2 separate regions of the Homo sapiens genome follow, and region 1 is linked to region 2. The links are contacts of gene promoters, found by promoter capture Hi-C in human tissues and cell types (Jung and others, 2019). All regions are on one chromosome and are shown on one strand. Each heading gives the region's core, a stretch centred on a gene start or on the middle of the fragment in contact. The rest is flanking DNA. Distances are from core to core; before and after follow the strand shown.

Region 1 (4,452 bases), core at 1,461-3,960, 320 kb after region 2:
CATTAATATATTCATGAGGGCAGAGCTCTTATGACCTAATCACCTCTTAAAGGTCCTAACTCTTAATACTGTTACAATGACAATTAACTTTCCAGCACATAAACTTTTGGGAGACACATTCAAACCTTAGTGATACATAAATTATTTTTTTAAATTAAATAGCAATTCTGGAGTTAAAAAGCATAATAACTAAAATGAAAACTTCACTACAGCGGCTCAACTGCAGTTTTGAGCAGGCAGAAGAAATAGTAAACCTGAAGATTGATTGAGATTAGCTAGTTTGAGGGACAAAAAGTAAACAATTAAAAAAAAACAACACAGGATCCCATTCCAAGATGGCCGAATAGGAACAGCTCTGGTCTACAGCTCCCACTGTGATCAACGCAGAAGATGGGTGATTTCTGCATTTCCAACTGAGGTACCTGGTTCATCTCATTGGGATGGGTTGGACAGTGGGTGCAGCCCATGGAGGGCGAGCCGAAGCAGGGCGAGGCGTTGCCTCACCCAGGAAGTGCAGGGGTCGAGGGATTTCCCTTTCCTAGCCAAGGGAAACTGTGACAGACCATACCTGGAAAAACAGGACACTCCTGCCTAAATACTGTACTTTTCCAATGGTCTTAGCAAACGGCACACCAGGAGATTATATCCCCTGCATGGCTGGATAGGTCCTACGCCTATGGAGCCTTGCTCACTGCCAGCACAGCAGTCTGAGAAGGATCTGTGAGGCAGCAACCTGGCAGGGGGAGGGGCGTCCACCATTGCTGAGGCTTGAGTAGGTAAACAAAGCAGTCAGGGAAGCTTGAACTGGGCAGAGCGCACCACAGCTCACCAAGGCCTGCTGCCTCTGTAGACTCCACGTCTGGGGGCAGGGCATAACTGAAGAAAAGGCAGCAGAAACTTCTGCAGACTTAAACGTCCCCGTCTCACAGCTGTGAAGAGAGCAGTGGTTCTCCCAGCATGGTGTTTGAGCTCTGAGAACGGACAGACTACCTCCTCAAGTGGGTCCCTGACCCCTGTGTAGCCTAACTGGAGACACCTTCCAGTAGGGGGCTGATTGACACCTCATACAGGCAGGTGCCCCTCTGGAACAAAGCTTCCAGAAGGATCAGGCAGAAATATTTGCTGTTCTGCAATCTTTGTTGTTCTGCAGCCTCTGCTGGTGATCCCCAGGGAAACACGGTCTGGAGTAGACCTCCAGCAAACTCCAACACACCTGCAGCTAAGGGATCTGACTGTTAAAAGGAAAACCAACAAACGGAAAGGAATAGGATCAACATCAACAAAAAGGATATCCACACCAAAACCCCATCTGTAGGTCACCAACATCAAAGACCAAAGGTAGATAAAAACCACAAAGATGGGGAGAAACCAGAATAGAAAAGCTGAAAATTCTAAAAACCAGAGCACCTCTTCTCCTCCAAAGGATTGCAGCTCCTCGCCAGTAACAGAACAAAGCTGGACAGACAATGATTTTGACAAGTTGACAGAAGTAGGCTTCAGAAGGTCAGGAATAAGAAACTTCTCCAAGCTAAATGAGGATGTTTGAACCTATCGCAAGGAAGCTAAAAACCTTGAAAAAAGATTAGACGAATAGCTAACTAGAATAAACAGTGTAGAAAAGAACTTAAATGACCTGATGGAGCTGAAAACCATGGCGCAAGAACTACATGATGCATGTACAAGCTTCAGTAGCCGATTTGATCAAGTGGAAGAAAGGGTATCAGTGACTGAAGATCAAATGAATGAAATAAAGCAAGAGGAGAAGTTTAGAGAAAAAAGAGTAAACAGAAATGAACAAAGCCTCCAAGAAATATGGGACTAGGTGAAAAGACCAAATCTACGTTTGATTGGTGAAACTGAAAGTGACAGGGAGAATGGAACCAAGTTGGAAAACACTCTTCAGGATATTATCCAGGAGAATTTCCCCAACCTAGCAAGGCAGGCCAACATTCAAATTCAGGAAATACAGAGAACACCATAAAGATATTCCTTGAGAAGAGCAACCCCAAGACACATAATTGTCAGATTTACCAAGATTGAATTGAAGGAAAACAATGTTAAGGGCAGCCAGAGAGAAAGGTCAGGTTACTCACAAAGGGAAGCCCATCAGACTAACAGCAGATCTCTCAGCAGAAACTCTACAAGCCAGAAGAGAGTGAGAGCCAATATTCAACATTCTTAAAGAAAAGAATTTTCAACCCAGAATTTCATATCCAGCCAACTAAGCTTCACAAGTGAAGAGGAAATAAAATCCTTTCTAGACAAGCAAATGCTGAGAGATTTTGTCACCACCAGGCCTGCCCTAAAAGAGCTCCTGAAGGAAGCACCAAACACGGAAAGGAACAACCAGTACCAGCCACTGCAAAAACACGCCAAATTGTAAAGACCATCAATGCTAGGAAGAAACTGCATCAACTAACAGGCAAAATAACCAGCTAACATCATAATGACAGGATCTAATTCACACATAACAATATTAACCTTAAATGTAAATGGGCTAAATGCCCCAATTAAAAGACACAGACTGGCCAATGAGATAAAGAGTCAAGACCCATCAGTGTGCTGTATTCAGGAAACCCATCTCACGTGCAGAGACACACATAGGCTCAAAATAAAGGGATGGAGGAAGATCTACCAAGCAAATGGAAAACAAAAAAAAAAGCAGGGGTTGCAATCCTAGTCTCTGATAAAACAGACTTTAAACCAACAAAGATCAAAAGAGACAAAGAAGGCCACTACATAATGGTAAAGGGATCAATTCAACAAGAAGAGCTAACTATCCTAATTATATATGTACCCAATACCAGAGCACCCAGATTCATAAAGCAAGTCATTAGAGAACTACAAAGAGACTTAGACTCCCACACAATAATAACAGAAGACTATAACACCCCACTGTCAATATTAGACAGATCAACGAGACAGAAAGTTAACAAGGATATCCAGGACTTGAACTCAGCTGTGCACCAAGCCAACTAAATAGTCATCTACAGAACTCTCCACCCCAAATCAACAGAATATACATTCTTCTCAGCACCACATCACACTTATTCCAAAATTGACCACATAGTTGGAAGCAAAGCTCTCCTCAGCAAATGTAAAAGAACAGAAATCACAACAAACTGTCTCTCATATGACAGTGCAATCAAATTAGAACTCAGGATTAAGAAACTCACTCAAATCCTGAAAAGTGCATGGAAACTGAACAACTTACTTCTGAATGACTACTGGGTAAATAACGAAATGAAGGCAGAAATAAAGATGTTCTTTGAAACCAATGAGAACGAAGACAAAACGTACCAGAATCTCTGGGACACATTTAAAGCAGTGTATAGAGGGAAACTTATAGCACTAAATGCCCACAAGAGAAAGCAGGAAAGATCTAAAATTGACACCCTAACATTACAATTAAAAGAACTAGAGAAGCAAGAGCAAACAAATTCAATAACTAGCAGAAGGCAAGAAATAACTAAGATCAGAGCAGAACTGAAGGAGATAGAGACACAAAAAACCCTTCAAAAAATCAATGAATCTGGGAGCTGGTTTTTTGAAAAGATCAACACAATTGATGGACCGCTAGCAAGACTAATAAAGAAGAAAACAGAGAAGAATCAAATAGACACAATAAAGATGATAAAGGGGATAGCACCACCGATGACACAGAAATACAAACTACCATCAGAGAATACTGTAAACATCTCTATGCAAATAAAATAGAAAATCTAGAAAAAATTGATAAATTCCTGGACACATACACCCTCCCAAGACTAAACAAGGAAGAAGTTCAATCTCTGAATAGACCAATAACAGGCTCTGAAATTGAGGCAATAATAAACAGCCTACCAACCAAAAAATGTCCAGGACCAGACGGATTCACAGTGGAATTCTACCAGAGGTATGAACAGGAGCTGGTACCATTCCTTCTGAAACGATTTCAATCAATAGAAAAAGAGAAAATCCTCCCTAACTCATTTTATGAGGCCAGCATCATCCTGATACCAAAGCCTGGCAGAGACACAACAAAAAAAGAGAATTTTAGAACAATATCCCTGATGAACATCAATGCTAAAATCCTCAATAAAATACTGGCAAACTGAATCCAGCAGCACATCAAAAAGTTTATCCACCACGATCAAGTTGGCTTCATCCCTGGGATGCAAGACTGGTTCAACATACCCAAATCACTATATGTAATCCATCACATAAACAGAACCAATGACAAAAACCACATGACTATCTTAATAGATGCAGAAAAGGACTTTGACAAAATTCAACAGCCCTTCATGCTAAAGACTCTCAAAAAACTACGCACTGATGGAATGTATCTCAAAATAATAAGAGCTATTTATGACAAACCCACAGCCACTATCATACTGAATGGGCAAAAACTGGAAGCATTCCCTTTGAAAACCTGCACAAGACAGGGATGCCCTCTCTCACCATTCCTATTCA
Region 2 (4,550 bases), core at 151-2,650:
CACCATAATGGAAAGTAAAAAAAAAAAAAAAAAAGTTTTCGAAGAATCTTCACTGTTCAGGATCATCATGAATTGACTCTTCTTCAAAGTAGACAATATCATTAGACAAAGCAGGTAAAAATCTTTGGGATTATTGCAATAAGACAGAAAGGAAAAAAAAAGAACAAATACGCAAAGATGTTTTAGAAGTCCGTCCCAAGTGGATAGTCTTACAAGCATAAAGATTATCAGGCAAATTCTGTAAACAGAATTATGTGTTCAACCTGCCCTCCACCCCTAAAGCTTGGTGCTTTGCATTTATAGTGTGTATGATGCTCAAGAGAATGGAACTACAGTCAATGTGCATAAAGCAGACGGAAGTGGATTACAGTTCAAAAGGAGCTGTCCAGCAATCAACAGTTTAAACATTACTGGAAGTGTTCAGACACCGTAAAATCATGTCTCAAAGATATTACAAGGATAATTTACAGGAGAAAGTTACCAGTAGAACTTCATGACCTATAGAAAACTGTTCTGGTTCCTTCTCCCAGCCTTCAGCACCGTGCCTTTACACTCATTCTGTAAAAGGCCCCAGTGCAGCTAAGAGGATGAATTTTTAAACACCACATACATCATGCCAACAACGAAGAATTAACAGATAAATACTGTTTCAATAAGGGGAACGTAATAATTTGTTCATAACCACCTCAGTAACTGAAACTGGGGTTATTAAAATCTTCAAGATATATTTTTAAAGGCACAAGAAGAGCCTGAAGCAGTGAGCGCCCAGCACCAAGTTGAAAAAACATAACGACTTAAGGTTTGCTGTACCAATTCCATTTGCCTTGATTTCGTACCAAGCGGCGCGTCAGAAAGTACACGGAAAACCTAAAGAGGGAAACCCAACTGGGAACCCTTGACTCAAAGCACGTGAACAAATGGTGACGAGATGAGTTAAGCCAGCGGGGTAAGAGAGAAGGGACTGCGCCTAAACGGGAGTACGCAAGGCCACCTAGAGGATGCACAGACCTGCATGCATACGTTCCTGACCCTTCCAGCAGCAGAACCATCTGGGCCGCCACCCGCTGATAACAACGGAACCGTGGGCATTGGCCCTTCAACGCCGTCTCGCCCGCCCTCTCCAGTCAGTTTGGTGGATATTTCGGTGAAGGCTGCAGACTCTCAGAGTCACCCCTCCCTCAAGCAGCGTTCTCCGTACTCTTCGGCGCCGGGAAGCTCAGAGGGAGCTGGCCTGCTCTTACCTTCAGGTGTCGGCGGCGGCTCCTGCCGCTTCCCGCGGGACAGGAAGGCCTTGGGCAGCAGCAGCGACAGAGCCAGGACAAGCCCAGAAGCCAGAGCGACTCTCTGCACTGTGGAGTACGCCATGACTGCTCACGGTGGTCGCAGGTGCAGACGCCAGCCGGAACCGGAACCGGAACCGGAGCACGGGCTGCCGCTCCCGACCGAACCGCGGGCGGCGCGGACGGCGTCGCGCGAGGGACAAGGTGCGCGAGGCGCACGCATCTTCACCTCCACTGTCGGGAGTTGACCTGCTCCTCCCGCGTGGTTACCCGTCGCTGTAAATGGTACCCTCGCCTTCCCGTTCATACTAACTAAAAACTCCTCCCTCACTCCCCATGTTCATCTTTTACTGAGTCCTGTGCATTCTACCGCCTACACATCCGGCGGTCGTGCCCGGATCTCTATCCCCACTTACCACCACTGCCCCCCACCCACCCGTAGATCACAACATCCAGTTTCTCCTCATCTCCATGATCTCGCTGTCTTCCAGCTTCCACTCATGCCCCTCGCATTCATTATCCGTCTGCAGCCACAGGTGATAATGCTAAAACACAAGACTAATTCTCTTTCTCTCCAGCTTAAACCTTTTAACTCTCCATTATCTTCAGAACAATAGTTAAACTCCTTTCTATAACCTCAACGCCCTGCATGATCTGGTCTTACCAATGCTCCTTCCAAACTGGATGATTTGCTATTTCTTTAGCATATTGCTTGTCTTCAGGGAAGCTTTGCTTGTCCTGTTCCCACTGCCTGGAAAATTCCTGACACCATCTCCAGTTGTCAAAAACTTCTCTGAAGAACAGCTTAAAAACACTGCTCTCTCGAAACGTTTTCAGTCAGCCTCTCCTTTCTCTACAATCCCACCGTTCTTTGTTACTCTCTTCATTCGTTCATTTAACATTATTTTAGTTTTTACTATGTATTAGACCCTCAACTTGGCACTACAGGGTCTGATGAATAAAATGGATTCCCTTTGTAGGACAGATAATTATCCAAACAAAAAAAATGCAGGAAATATTCTGGATCCCCGAGCAGTCTTCTCAACTGGTACGAGGAAAAGTCAAGAAAAGCCCCTTTGAGAAGGTGAAATTGAGTTAGCTGTTGAAAAATGAGTAACTTATAGGCAGACAGGTGGGAGGGGTTAGAAAGGTATTCCGGAAAAAGGAGGCCAAAAAAATAAAGGCAAATCTGGAAGCTTCCTGGTGTGTTCAGAAAGCTATTGGTAATTCATTTTGGCAGGGCCATAGAGTAGTGACAGGACACGAAGTGCACAAATATAAGCAGGAGCTACATTGTGAAAAGCTTAGGTAGAACTTCCAGTTAAACATGACAGATGTAACATATGCATTTATCTTTGCTTTCCTGGGACAGTGCCCAAAAAGGAAAATAAAGAAATAAAGTATATAAACTACAAGACTAAATGCAATGATAGAAAACATGACAGCAGATGAGAAATGTCAATTTTGTAAGACGCACACAACACTGTCCAATAGACACATAATACCAGCCACATATGTAATTTAAATTTTTCCAGTAGCCACATTTAAAAAGTAAAAATAAGTAAAATTTATTTTAATAATATTTTAAACCAAGATAGCAAAAATATTTCAAATTTTATCAGCACGATAGTGTGGCTCGTTGGCGCCCACAGTAGACAGTGCAGGTGTAGAGCATAAAAAGTTAAATGCCTGTGGACTGAAAGCCTGTAAGGAGTGAACTAATTTGCCCCTCAGAACCCATGCTCTTAAGAATTGGAGGTACTGGGTTCCTTTAAAGCCAAGGGTGCAGAGTGGGTCTGAATGAAGGATTGGCTGGAAATCTGATTAAAAAGCAGTTGAGACTGGGCACAGTGGCTCACACCTATAATCCCAGGGCTTTGGGAGGCCAAGGCTGGAGGATGGCTTGAGGCCAAGAGTTCAAGGCCAGCCTGGGCAACATAGGGAGAGCCCTAATCTCTACCAAAAAAATGTAAAAAATTAACCAGGCATGGTGGTGTGCACCTGTAGTCCCAACTACTCAGGAAGCTGAGGTGGGAAGATCACTTGAGCCCAAGAGTTTGAGGCTGCAGTGAGCTATGATTGTGTGAAACCACAATTAATTATGATATATAAGATGATAATAATGCCTGAATGAAGCCAGTAGGGGCACCCACTCCAGCCAGGGTGACAGAGTGAGACCCTGTCTCTAAAAAAAAATTGTTTGATTTTTTTAAAGCAATGGATATCTTCTGAATCTCTTTCCTTGATTCATGCAGCCAGATGGGTGCCACTGCTGGCTTCACTCGGGCATTATTATCATTGATGTTATTAACATCACTAAAAGTTAGAGTACTAATTATGTTTTAGGCATCTTACATATCATAATTATTCCTCCCAATAACTTCAAGAGGTAAGCAATATTATTATATACCCATTTCACAGGTAAGAAAATGGAGCCCCAGAAAACATAATTTACTTGCCAACAATTACACAGTATAAACTGGATGCTATGATTTGAACACAGGCATGCTTACTCAAGAATTTGCCCTCTTAGCTACCAGGTTTACTGTCTGGGGAGGTTTAGTCAGAAAACCTCTGGACTCCTGGACTATAGATGCAGCTTAGGGAGGAGGTGACTAATGGGATGTGGTCTCTAAGAAATACAGAGGGGTCTGGAATGACCACACTCCCCCCCGCCCTCCGCCACCAAATTCTAGCTTGGGTAAATGGTAGACATTAATTCTATATAACATGATTTTAAGAATAGAAGAATCAGGTTTGTGAGAAAGATGAAGAGTTCAGATTTTGACTAGCTGAATTTGAAGTTCCATGAAATATCCAAGTAGAAATATCCAGTTGGATATATGGGCCTGGAGCTCAGAAGAGATGTTTGGGCTAGAAACAATAGGAAATCATCAGCCCATCTATAGTAAATGAAGTCTAGGAGAAGATGGCATTAGTGAGAGTGCTCATGTGAAGTTGTAAGAAGCCACAATGGAAACCTAGGTCACAACATTATGTTGAAGTTCCCATGTATGAGGACAGAAATGAGGTGGGAAATAGTGATCCAAGTGTTAAAATCTTTAATGAATGTGGAGTTACTACAAGGTTGGAAGGTGACAGGAACAGAAGAAGTAATGGGCAGCCAGATGACATGCTCTTCTAAGGAGCTGTGTTTTTTTTTAATTGTTTAAAAATTTTTATTTATTTATTTATTTATTTATTTATTTTTGAGATGGAGTCTTGCTCTGTTGCCCAGGCTGGAGTGCAGTGGTGCAATCTCGGCTCACT

Evidence for each region. Contacts are between HindIII fragments. The study calls those that stand out against the background at their distance.
Region 1: a contact is called between a fragment that was not itself captured here and the fragment with the promoter of RIC3 in region 2, in 2 of the 25 tissues and cell types used here (adrenal gland and pancreas).

The regions. Positions count from the first base shown.
Region 1 is chr11:8,489,621-8,494,072 of GRCh38, forward strand. All of the region lies in intron 1 of STK33 (serine/threonine kinase 33), which reads right to left. Among named protein-coding and RNA genes, the nearest start is that of STK33, 100 kb to the right of the region's middle. The HindIII fragment of the contact is 7,301 bases long and covers 1-4,452 here.
Region 2 is chr11:8,167,625-8,172,174 of GRCh38, forward strand. RIC3 (RIC3 acetylcholine receptor chaperone) reads right to left here and starts at 1,401. Exons shown (of 6, transcript NM_001206671.4): 1 at 1,242-1,401. The coding sequence starts at 1,365. It overlaps RIC3-DT (RIC3 divergent transcript), which reads left to right and starts at 1,446. Exons shown (of 5, transcript NR_187234.1): 1 at 1,446-1,565; 2 at 2,261-2,364. The HindIII fragment of the contact is 6,174 bases long and covers 1-2,241 here.